Linked DNA regions of Homo sapiens: region 2 is linked to region 1. The links are contacts of gene promoters, found by promoter capture Hi-C in blood cells and fetal thymus (Javierre and others, 2016). All regions are on one chromosome and are shown on one strand. Each heading gives the region's core, a stretch centred on a gene start or on the middle of the fragment in contact. The rest is flanking DNA. Distances are from core to core; before and after follow the strand shown.

What was found. Contacts are between HindIII fragments. The CHiCAGO score rates a contact against its expected background, and 5 or more counts as called.
Region 2: a contact is called between a fragment that was not itself captured here and the fragment with the promoter of TNFSF15 in region 1, in 2 of 17 cell types (M0 macrophages and M1 macrophages). The highest score is 6.3, in M0 macrophages.

The regions. Positions count from the first base shown.
Region 1 is chr9:114,802,524-114,808,917 of GRCh38, reverse strand. It overlaps TNFSF15 (TNF superfamily member 15), which reads left to right and starts at 2,879. Exons shown (of 4, transcript NM_005118.4): 1 at 2,879-3,115. The coding sequence starts at 2,906. The HindIII fragment of the contact is 3,139 bases long and covers 2,660-5,798 here.
Region 2 is chr9:115,523,950-115,530,343 of GRCh38, reverse strand. No RefSeq gene overlaps it. Among named protein-coding and RNA genes, the nearest start is that of DELEC1, 390 kb to the right of the region's middle. The HindIII fragment of the contact is 2,493 bases long and covers 1,163-3,655 here.

The DNA of each region.
Region 1 (6,394 bases), core at 1,630-4,129:
AAGCTTCATGAAAGCAGGAGGTTTTGTCTGTTCTTTTCACTGTTTTATCCCCAGTACCTAGAACACTATCTTGCACATACTCAAGTGCGATAACTCATCATTTATCTGTTAAGTGATTTACTTTTTGCCTTTGAATCCACTGAGATTCAAGAAGGAAAAAAGAAGTACCTCCTGGCAGCCAAAATAGATCTCTGTATTATCAAAGAAGTTATACAGATGGCAAATAAGTATGTGAAAAGATGTTCAACATGATTAGCCATTAGGGGAATGCAAATTAAAACCACAGTGAGATACGACCACACACTTATCAGAACGGCAAAAGCAAAATATAGTAAAGGCACCAAATGCTGGAGAGAGGATACAGAGAGGATGCTGGACCTTTCACACATTACTTGTGGGAAGTAAAATGATACAACCACTCTGGTTGTAGGTAACTGCCATACAGTTACCTACAGAATTAATTGTAGATAACTGCTATATTTAGGCAACTGCTTAAATTTTATAGGTAACTGCCATGGTAAAAACATACCATGGTAAAAAACATGGTATGTTTTTACCATGGCAGTTAATTTTACCATGGGAAATTAAACATTTGTTTACCATACAGCCAACAATTTCACTTTGGGCATTTATACCAGAAAAAGTGAAAACATGTTCACACAAAATAATCTGTACACAAATATTCACAACAGCATTATTCATAATAACTCAAAACTGGAAATAACCCAAATGTCCTTCAGTGGGCGAATGATTAAACAAACTGTTGTATATCCGTACCATAGAATGCTACTCAGTCATCAAAAGAAAGGTTAAGTTACAATAGCAAAGATTTAGGTTAATCTCAAAGATGTTTCTTAATAGATTTGTTCAATCCAGAATGAGTAACCATGGGACATCAAAATCATCCTTTGCTAGAATTCTTTGAAAATACGTTAGATGCTTATTTTAGTAGATGGTAATGAGTCTATTGAATAACAGTTAGGAGCAATAGTCATGGGGAAGGGTTATGACTTAGTACCTGCTCTCCCAGACCTGATGGTCTAATTGGGGAGACAGAAGGAATGGTCAAACATAGTCTAGTAGGAGGTATTCAATGATAGGGAAGAAAGGGAAGCTATAGGAACATAGAATATGATCATCTTACCCAATCTTGGAGGCAGGCGGATACAAAAATGGTTTCTACACACAATTAAGGAACAGGAGCATAGAAAAGAAAGGTTAAGTTACAATAGCAGAGATTTAGGTTAGTCTCAAAGACATTTTTTAATAGATTTGTTAAACCAAGAATGAGTAGCCATGGGACATGAAAATCATCCTTTGCTAGAATGAGCATAGGAGCATAGTGATATGAAGGAAGAGGACTGGACACTTCCATTTTGCAACAGTACAGCTAGTCAATAGTGTATCCAGGGAACTGCAGCTTGGGAAAGTAGTAAAAGTTGAGGCTGGACACTGGGGACGGGTGACAGTGAGCAGGGACCAAGCCATGAAAGGCCTTTCCAAGTAGCCTGAAGAGTCCAGGCTGTGACATAACCAGAAGTAGCAACTGGATGGAGGCGCTAGTAAAACTGGTTTCTGCCGTACATCACAGGCCATTCCTTAAACTTTCCTATTATTTCTAGAACCCATCTTTTCCCAGGGTCCTTTACTTTCCTCTGAGATCAACCCTCCCTGAGCTCTAAGGCCGAGTTCCAACACCACCTCTTTCTCCAGGAAGCCCCCTCAACCCCCTCACTGCAGGGTCTTACCCACTCCTGGGTAAAGACAGTGCAGGTATTTATGAACATGCATGATCCAGCAGTACCTATGGTGAAGTGTGATGGTGAAGAAGCCAGCAGCCAGCCTGCCTGAGTCCCAATCCTGGCTCTACCACTTGCCGTCTGTGCTTTATTTTCTTATGTGTAAAATGAGAATGATAGCTTTATTGTCACAAAATTTATCTCAGGATTGAATAATTTTATTGATGTATTTAACTTAGAGCAGTGATTGGCACAAAGTAAGCACTTAATAAATATAATCTTTTATTACATGTTGTGGCCCCCACACCCAACTGCAGGCAAAGCACATCACATGATCAATTAACTTTAGACTAATCAGGGAGTAGTGGTTAATGTTCTACCCTCACAGACAGTCACCTCGATCTGTGGCCTCATACTCTGATTAAACAATGGTCAATGCAGACTGGAAATACTTTCCTTTCATGGGCAGTCATGTGCTAGAGGTTACAACTCCAAGCCGTGATTTAGAACTAGGTCATCTTCCTAGCTCCTCTGTCTTCATCCTTGGATGACCTAGGACAAGTGCCTTCACCTTTTAGAACTTTGCTATTCCCATCTGTACACTGAGAATGAATTTCTATGAGGTTCAAAATGACAGAGGGCTAGGCAGCACTTTGCAAAGAGCTGATGCAAATGTGATTTCCGTTTCCCAATCTGCAAACCACACACCTCTCATCCCTCACTTTCACTTCCAGAAGCACACTCCCCAGACTGGCACAGCTGGTAAGCCTCCAGTGCAGGGAACAGGTATATTTTAATTTGCCCCACCCACTGACTTGATGAATTCTTTCTCTCCTCCTTCAGGGACTTTCCTAACTTCCTTCTGTAAACGAAGGAAGGAGCACATGAGCATACTGTATATAAATATGCTTGGGAAAGCTTTCTTCTTCTCCTTCTTCTTCTTTTTTTTTTTTTTTTTTTTTTCCTCAAACCAAACTTGGTTTCTGTTGTAGGCGGTGCATTCTCTAGCAGGGTAGGGCCACAGTGTGCTCTTGAAGAGGGGAGGGGAGAGGAAAAGGGAAGGAGGAGACTGAGTGATTAAGTCACCCACTGTGAGAGCTGGTCTTCTATTTAATGGGGGCTCTCTCTGCCCAGGAGTCAGAGGTGCCTCCAGGAGCAGCAGGAGCATGGCCGAGGATCTGGGACTGAGCTTTGGGGAAACAGCCAGTGTGGAAATGCTGCCAGAGCACGGCAGCTGCAGGCCCAAGGCCAGGAGCAGCAGCGCACGCTGGGCTCTCACCTGCTGCCTGGTGTTGCTCCCCTTCCTTGCAGGACTCACCACATACCTGCTTGTCAGCCAGCTCCGGGCCCAGGGAGAGGCCTGTGTGCAGTTCCAGGTAAGCCACATGGCACTCTGACCTTGGGGAGGAGCAGTGGACTCTCTGCAGTGAGTGGCAACTATTTCAGCTCTGGACAGAGGATAGAGTTTCTTGATGTATCACATTTCTTGTTTCTACATGCAGAGGAAATGTAGAGTGGGAGGGGTGGAGAGGTTCAATTTGGTGTTTATTCTCAATATTTCTAGGGAATGAACAGTCCCTTCTTTTACTGTGGGGATAACCTTCAGCCTCATATTTTTTAGATAATTATAATCATAGTATACTGGTAATTTGGGAAGATTCTTTTTATTTAAGAAAAAAACTTAAAATTACATAACTAACACGGTCATTGAAAAAAGTTAGAAAATACAGATAAGGAGAGGAAGAAAGTCATCATTACCCATAACTCTTATAGCTGACCACTGTTAACAGTTTGGGATATATAATTCTGTACAGAATTATATGCCAGATATAAAACGGATTTTTTAATGAGACGAGATTATTCTGAGTCTGCTAATATATTATGATTTTATTTATATGCTAATGAATTCACAACAACATGATGCTATAGATACACATTCCTATATGTGGATGCTATAATTTCTTTACCCACTCTTTTTCTTGGGTTTAGAACTTTTTCTCTTTTTAGAGCTTAAGAAAGAACCTCCTGCCTGGTTGTCTATCTCTAAGGTCTTGCTGAGGCCTGGGAGAAGCCTAGTCAGAAAAAGAATATGAAGTCTAGGGAGAACAATGGTAGGGGCAGCGATAGGTGTCAAGAAGAAAACATAATTCTTGGCTGGGAACAACAAAGATGTACCTCAAAACCTAAGGAATGAGTCTTTCCAGTAATATCCTTTTTAAAAATGTCCCTTCATAATCTATGGTGGCTGATTTCATTTCAGTTCAAAGTATTAAATTGCAAAGGGAAAAAAATGGGTTTTCAATGGGTTTAACTGGAAACCTAGCCTCTAAGCAATCCTGGCCAGTTTCAAAGCATAGACACCACAAGTAAGCCATGGAAAATCTGTAATTCTCGCTGCCCCATCAGGGTCAACAAACAGACTGTGATTCAGGCAGCAGCGTTCATGGCCAGATGCCATTGCTCATAAAATGTAGAAATATGCAGACAAACCGGAAATGCTGTTTATGTTAAAGAAGAACCGCAGGTCATGGGAAGTCAGACTTTGACCCTTTGACCACCAAGGGGCCAGTTTCTGCTGGAAGTCAAACTGCAGCGCCCAGTTGGTGCTCTGGGACTCTGTCCCTCTTTAGCCAGAAGGAGATAGTTGTCCTTGAATGAGACACTGAGTGGCCTCCAGAAACCTGCACTGGGGTCTGAAGGAAGCCCAGAGGCATGACAGGTTCCCACGATCAAGATGATGTCTGAGAGCCCTTGGTCAGCAGAAGGCGAGGACTGCCTTTGTCTATCTAGAAGACCAGCAAGCAGAATGTTACAGACCAGGGAGGATCCATGACTTGCCCAGCCAGAAGGTGAGATGGAGACATGCACTGTCACTAGACGGGAAGCTCGGTGAAGGAAGGCACGGGGTCTTTTTTACTCACTGCTACTGCCCCTACCTGAATCTATCACTGTGCCTATCCAATTGCAGATGCTCAAGAAATGAATAAGGCTGACACCATCCATTCCATTATCATTAAATTCATCTTCCTGGAGAGCAGATGTGTGGGGATGATTGCAGCTCTGGTTTGCCCAGGCTCTGTAACTTCTTAGTGTGTCAGAAGAAAAGGAGAGGGAAATGGGGGTGAGGCTGGGCTCATGTAGCAATCAGGGTCCTGAAAAGAAACAGCTGGCTCACTCAAGAAAGTGCATTTGTAGAAGAATATTTAAAGAGTTTGAAGGGATTTAAAGAAGGGCCTCTTTGCTGAGATGCAGACGGATTGAAGGGAACTGAAAGGGCTGGAACATCCAGCACTAGCAACAGTGGGAAACCAGCAACCATGCCTTGGCATGAAGGGCACATGGAGGGAGAAGTGTTAGAGAAACCCAGAGAGAACTAAAGCCTAGGAGAGGGCCTGCCTGGAAGACCTAAGGGCTCTGGGGAGAAAGGCAGTCACTGCCAAAACAGCAGCAAGAGCACAGAAGGAAGGAGGGAATGCTGACTGCTCCCCCATCCCCCACCCTGCCTCCAATCCAATCCCATTGACCAGGCTCAGGAGGAAGCCAGAGCTCAAAGGTCCAGGGGCAACTGAGCCAGGAGTCAGCTTCACAGGACAGAGCAGGGTCAGGAAGGGCTGAGAGAGGATCTGGAGGGACTGATGGAGAAGAAATGGCTCAGAGGAGATGGGAAAAGACTGGATTCAAGGAGGGAAAACCAGGGCACCAAGGAGAACTTGGGTAAACATACAGTGAAATGTGGCTCACTTCCAGCTATGAAAATAGGCATGTGGCTTCATTTCTTTGAGCCTTTTTCCTTTTCTCTGAAGGGGGTATTAATATCAATACTCTGACAGCACCAATAAGGCGTGTGCAGAAGGAGCATTGTGTATGTTAGAAATGTGGGGAGAGCCGCATGCACATGGTGGCTGTGACGTGATCATCACTCTACCCCAGGCACCAGGCAACTACAGAGAAAATTTGATGTTGGCCTCAGGAAATAGGCTATTTCAACAGAGAGGTGCTATGGAATTTCAGATGCTCTCCCGGCCCAGCCACAGAGACAGGGGTGGTTCAGGAAAAGCTTTCTGGAGGAGGGAAGGAAGGCACCTGGGCTAGAAGCTGTGGCTGAGGTCCAGATCACAGACACCATTATGGGTAAAAACCAGTCAGATGATCGCAGGTCATTGGAGATAACAAGGCCTTTGAAGGTCAGCTAGCCTAAAGTGCCTAGTTTTGCACATAGGGACACTGAGGCCCAGGGGATTGAAGAGATTTGCCCAATCCCATACCTCTAGTCGGTGACAGAGCCACAATTTGAAACTGGACCATCTGGCCTCCTTCCCTGTGCATTCAGGCAGCCATATTTGTGCTGTTCCAAGTGCCAGGTGGCCACACCATGGATCAAAGGAAGAAGGAGATCAGTAATACCATGGAGAAAACTATTACCACAACTATACCAGTTACTGAGCCTCACCCCTCTCCCATTGAAGAACTTCAGATGGCAAATCTTATGCCACCCACAGAGTCACCCATCTAGAACTACTGGCCCAGCAGAGAGTAAGGCTACCTGTATTTTTCCAAAGAGAGAATTAAGAATCAGAGAGCTAACACAGCATGCTTACATTACAGAAATACAATTAAAAACAAAATCTGGCCGGGCACAGTGGCTCATGCCTGTA
Region 2 (6,394 bases), core at 1,160-3,659, 720 kb before region 1:
CTTATTGTATATGAGTAAGAAAATTCATGATTTATTTATGACACTTGTTTAAGGGTTTCTCTTACTGGGAGTCAAAGCAAATATTGATACATGAGCTATAAAACACCATAGAAGACCTTGAGTTCAAAACTCTGTAGAATAGATTTGCTGTAGAAGTTGGGAGCAGCCTTCTAGGACACTGGACTATGTGTTTCTGATAGCTAGCTAAAGAAAAATGAAGAGCAACTGGTTTGACCCACATTGATTGGGATCCAGAGACATTGAACGATGGTGAGGCACTGTAAGCTGGTGTTGAAATTGATGCTGGGAAGAAGAGTACAGTATTCCCCTTACCACCTTATCCATGATTTCAGTTACCCATGGTCATCCGTGGTCTCATAATATCAAATGAAAAATTCCAGAAATTGACAATTCATATGCTTTAAATTTTATGCCATCCTCTGTAATGTGAAGAAATCTGACATAGTCCTGCTCCACCCAGCCTGACACATGAATTGTCCCTTTGTCCAGTGTCTCCATGCCATCTATACTACCCACCTGTTAGTCACTTAGCAGCCATCTTGGTTATCAGATGGACTATTGCAGTATCACAGTGCTTATGTTCAAGTAACCCTTATTTTACTTAATAATAATCCCAAAGGGCAAGAGTAGTGATGCTGGCAATTCAGATATACCAGAGAGAAGCCACACAAAAGTGCTTTCTTTAAGTGAAAAGGTGAAAGTTCTCTACCTAATGAGAAAATAAAAATGGTATGCTGACATTGCTAAGATCTAGGGTGAGAGCAAATCTTCTATCCATGAAATAGGGGACGGTATTTTTTATAATTGTTTTACTTCAGTATTAGTTATTGTAAAAATTTTACCGTGCTTAATTTATAATTTAAACTCTATCATGGGTATGTATGCATATGAAAAAAATACAGTGTATATAGGGTTCAGTACTATCTGTGTTTTCAGGCATCTACTGGGAATCTTGAAACTTATCCCAAGTTACACAGCTATACAGGGGGCCTACTGTATCAACTGGAGCTTGAAGGTGATGCAACAGGAAGATGGAGAGATGACTGAACAGTTAGGATGTTTCTGATGTCATAGAGGTATTAGATGAGAATGATCTCCAATGCCTAAGAAACTGGGGGAGAAGGGGTAATTGGCAAAAGCTTTTATTCTCTCAGAATCTACCTTGTTGCACAGACTCCATAAGAGGCCACAAAACGTAGCATGGGTCAGGGCATACTTCTGTGGAAAGAATGCAGCCACGATGGAATCTCATAGGCCAAGTTTGAATTCTGGCTTCACCACCTGCCAACTCTACCAATTAACACCATCCTTCAGGATTTTAGTCTTCTCAACTCTCAACTGGCATAACAGTGGCTACTTGAGTAGATCACTGACAAGATGATAAATTATTACATAATTTATATATAAAAATGATTACATGATTTATATATAAATGATTACATAATTTATATATAAAAATTATTACTTGTAAATTTGTCTGAGTTCATTGTAGATTCTGGATATTAGCCCTTTGTCAGATGAGTAGGTTGCGAAAATTTTCTCCCATTTTGTAGGTTGCCTGTTCACTCTGATGGTAGTTTCTTTTGCTGTGCAGAAGCTCTTTAGTTTAATTAGATCCCATTTGTCAATTTTGTCTTTTTGCCATTGCTTTTGGTGTTTTGGACATGAAGTCCTTGCCCATGCCTATGTCCTGAATGGTAATGCCTAGGTTTTCTTCTAGGGTTTTTATGGTTTAAGGTCTAACGTTTAAGTCTTTAATCCATCTTGAATTGATTTTTGTATAAGGTGTAAGGAAGGGATCCAGTTTCAGCTTTCTCCATATGGCTAGCCAGTTTTCCCAGCACCATTTATTAAATAGGGAATCCTTTCCCCATTGCTTGTTTTTCTCAGGTTTGTCAAAGATCAGATAGTTGTAGATATGCGGCGTTATTTCTGAAGGCTCTGTTCTGTTCCATTGTTCTATATCTCTGTTTTGGTACCAGTACCATGCTGTTTTGGTTACTGTAGCCTTGTGGTATAGTTTGAAGTCAGGTAGTGTGATGCCTCCAGCTTTGTTCTTTTGGCTTAGGATTGACTTGGTGATGCGGGCTCTTTTTTGGTTCCATCAAAAAGTGGGCGAAGGACATGAACACACACTTCTCAAAAGAAGACATTTATGCAGCCAAAAAACACATGAAAAAATGTTCATCATCACTGGCCATCAGAGAAATGCAAATCAAAACCACAATGAGATACCATCTCACACCAGTTAGAATGGCAATCATTAAAAAGTCAGGAAACAACAGGTGCTGGAGAGGATGTGGAGAAATAGGAACACTTTTACACTGTTGGTGGGACTGTAAACTAGTTCAACCATTGTGGAAGTCAGTGTGGCGATTCCTCAGGGATCTAGAACTAGAAATACCATTTGACCCAGCCATCCCATTACTGGGTCTATACCCAAAGGACTATAAATCATGCTGCTATAAAGACACATGCACACGTATGTTTATTGTGGCATTATTCACAATAGCAAAGACTTGGAACCAACCCAAATGTCCAACAATGATAGACTGGATTAAGAAAATGTGGCACATATACACCATGGAATACTATGCAGCCATAAAAAATGATGAGTTCATGTCCTTTGTAGGGACATGGATGAAATTGGAAATCATCATTCTCAGTAAACTATCGCAAGAACAAAAAACCAAACACCGCATATTCTCACTCATAGGTGGGAATTGAACAATGAGATCCATGGACACAGGAAGGGGAATATCACACTCTGGGGACTGTTGTGGGGTGGGGGGAGGGGGGAGGATAGCATTGGGAGATATACCTAATGCTAGATGACGAGTTAGTGGGTGCAGCGCACCAACATGGCACATGTATACATATGTAACTAACCTGCACAATGTGTACATGTACCCTAAAACTTAAAGTATAATAAAAATTATTACATGATTTATAAATAAAAATTATTACATAATTTATAAATATATATAAATCTCAGCTATTGCTGTATTTCATTTACTATTTTAACAACAATCCTAGGTGCCAACTATATGCCAACTATTTTGCTAGATGCTACAGGAATACTGAACATGGTCTGTGTCTTTAAGTAGTGTGGAAAATAGCTGTATTCTCTATAAAAGAAAGACAGTAGTATTTTAAAATTAAATTCTGATCAAGTCACTCTTCTGTTTAAACTATTTTGAAGATTCCTATTATTCTTAGGATAAAAACCTGAAATCCTTAGTAGGACAATTATGGATAATGTTGCCCTTGCTTAAAAAACTCAGTCTAATCTCAAGCTACCTTTCGCTCTCTCAATTCCAGCTGCCTGTTTATTTCATATAGAGTGTATTTATGGCTATTTGATTAACGTCTATGTCTCATGACATCTTTGCTCTGTTGGGTCAGAAAGTTTTATCTGTTTTGCTACTCACTACATTCCTAAAGCCTGAGCAAAATTTCTGACAGCCAGGAGGTTGTCAAGAAATAGGCTTTTAATAAAAGGAACAATAAATGACAAGTAAAAGCTACAATGGTAGATAAAGTTATCCCATGCAACAGGAGCACAAAGAGAGAAACAGCAAACTCTGCCTCAGGTAGAGGAAGTAGCCTTTGAATATAGTAGAACAAACAAGCTTAGCTTTAAAGCACACCACAGAAGAGTTATCCAAGCAGAGAAGCTTTTTGTTTGTGCAAAAATCCCAGGAGGTACTAATTGTGCAGACCTCATTCTTCACCTATAAAATGAACTACCTGATACCTATTTAAGAGAGGGAAGTTATGAGTATTGGCTGAGATGCATGATGTAAATATGTCTGCCAAATATATATAAGGTGTTGTGATCAGAATCTACCTGTCTCATAAGCCTGGTTTATATTATGGCATTCTTGAAAATAAAAAATAATTAAATAATAATAGTAATAATAATAGTGACAATAATAATAAAAACAAAAAGTAGTGGGAAAGAAGAAGAGGAGAAGGAGGAAGAAGAGGAAGAGAAGGAGAAGGAGGAGGAAGAGAAAGAGGAGGAGGAGGAGAAGGAGGAGAAGGAAAAGAATAATTTTCTTTGTTTATTTTCTACTATGTACCTAGAACTTGATGTACAGTATTTTAATCCTATAAAAACTTTCATAGTAGCTAGTATTTTCTTCATTTCAATGATAGAGAAACTGACTTCCAGAGGTTTTAAATGTCCTTTCCAAAATCATAGAATAATAAGCAATTTATATAAACAGTGAAATTCTAATATCCTGGCCATCAACAATTATTTATTATGTACCTACAGTGGATCAGTCCATCTTTCTATGCTCTAGAAATGCAACTGTATATAAAAAGATAGATATTCTGCCTTCATGAAGCATAGAGTCCACTGGCATAAGCATATTGCAGAGATCCTGATGCTGATTGGTACCACACCATGAGAGGGGCATCTCTTTCCCATACTAAGGGGCATTACTATAGGCAGACAGTGACTCATTTAAGTCTCTATGAATGTCTTGCCACCTCACCTTGATACTAAATATTCTCATATCATGAAGTCAGAGTCATAGGAAAAGGGCAGAATCAGAGGCTAAAATGGCCAATTGGTGAGGTTGTAGCAGAATGACATCTCAGATTCTATTGTCCAGAGCCAGAAAGCAGAAGGGAGCTGGAGTTGGCCCAGACACTTGAGTTCTTGTTCACATCAGTCTGGAATATGTTGATACTCAATAAATATTTGTAAGCTGTCACTGTAAAATTTAGGAGCAGTCATGTGCTGCCAGCACACGAGAGCCCGTTACTTTCCAACTCCACATTCAATAAAATAGATCATGATGAGAGTATTTTTTAAACAGAGAAATCAGCAAATACCATAGATTGGTCCCTGCCCACCACCACCCTGACTTGGTTGGTAAACATTTACCAGCATACCACTGGAGAAAGAGCATCTCTCTCTGAGTCATTGTTTCTCCGTCTTTTCAAGGGGTAGACGATGAAGTGATTTTAAAGCCCCCAGAAAGCTGGATGATATGTTAGAAACAGCAAAGGTCTGGGGCAAGGCATACTTGGATTAAATTATAGATGCTGGCCACACATTGCTCTTGGAACGTTCAGCACGCTATTTGTCTCCCTGAGCCGCAGTTCCCTCCTATGTAGAATGAGGCTATTCACTTCTGCATGATTAGATTTTTCTAGGTGTTAAATATCAACATGGAAAACATGGAAAAATATAGACTCTAATAAGTGTTAGACTCCCCTTATTCCTATCATCTTCACAAATTATAAATAAAAGAATGAGCAAATACATAAATTTTCATTTTTTTCAGAGTTTGTATACCCCTCTTTTGCTTGATTACTTTTAGTTTTTTTGGTGTTATATAATAAATACCCATGATTTACTGCTATTATTATTTATTATCATTATCATTATTATTGTATGCTCTAAATTCCTACTCTATAATGGTAATATTTTTAAAGAATCTTCAAAACATAACTATCTGTAGCCAATTTCCTTTGGAAGGGACAAATAAATATGCATTATTCAGCAGCTACTTGGTAGCAGGCATTGTGCTGGCATGTTACATATTTGGCTCATTAAGCCTTCCAAAAGATAAGAGCGGAGTCTACATCTCAGAGAGAAAACGTTTTCTTTGGACATCATCAGAAGCCCACTTATACCACCAGGGAGCAGTAAAGAGCCACTGTTCAGGATTTTGAAAACTCCAAATCCCCACTACCAGATCACAGCAGTTCTCTTTGGACACAACATAATGGTAAATATTAAGTCTTGGCTGGCCCACCAGTCAGATGAGGGTCAGTGTTGAGGGAAAGGGCCTGTGAGCTAGACCAGCATGTCTGATTTTAGGTACGTAATCCATAGGAGCTTCCAGGAGATTAATAAGCAGGGATGTGGTTTTCCAAGTGATCACGGAGATAATACATTCCTTCCACTGCTTTTTGGAGAAAATGAAACTGAGCCCCAGAGATGGACAAAGACTTATCAAAGCTAGCTTAGTAGGTTGGCAGCAGAGCTAGAGCCAGAACCTGTACACAGTGTCTTCACACTGATACCTGTTGATAAGTAGGCACATACGTTCTGAAATATTCTGATATCACCATTATCCTGTATTGCCAAGGAAGAGACTGTTACCTTTTTTAATGGAAGGTGTTTCCATCCTGGGATTCCCAAGGGGTCTTTGCACATAGTACTTCCACTGGTATTGTTATTAGACAATCTTGAGTTTATTGCTGCTTTATAAAAGATAGCCAGGAACATAGGTAATTACATGTAAGAGAGCTTATCAAAGACAAACTTCAGCATCTTTTTCAGAAATATAATTTTGGTGACCACAGATAAAAGACCTTTTTCATTTTGAACATGGTGCCCAGAAAGGAC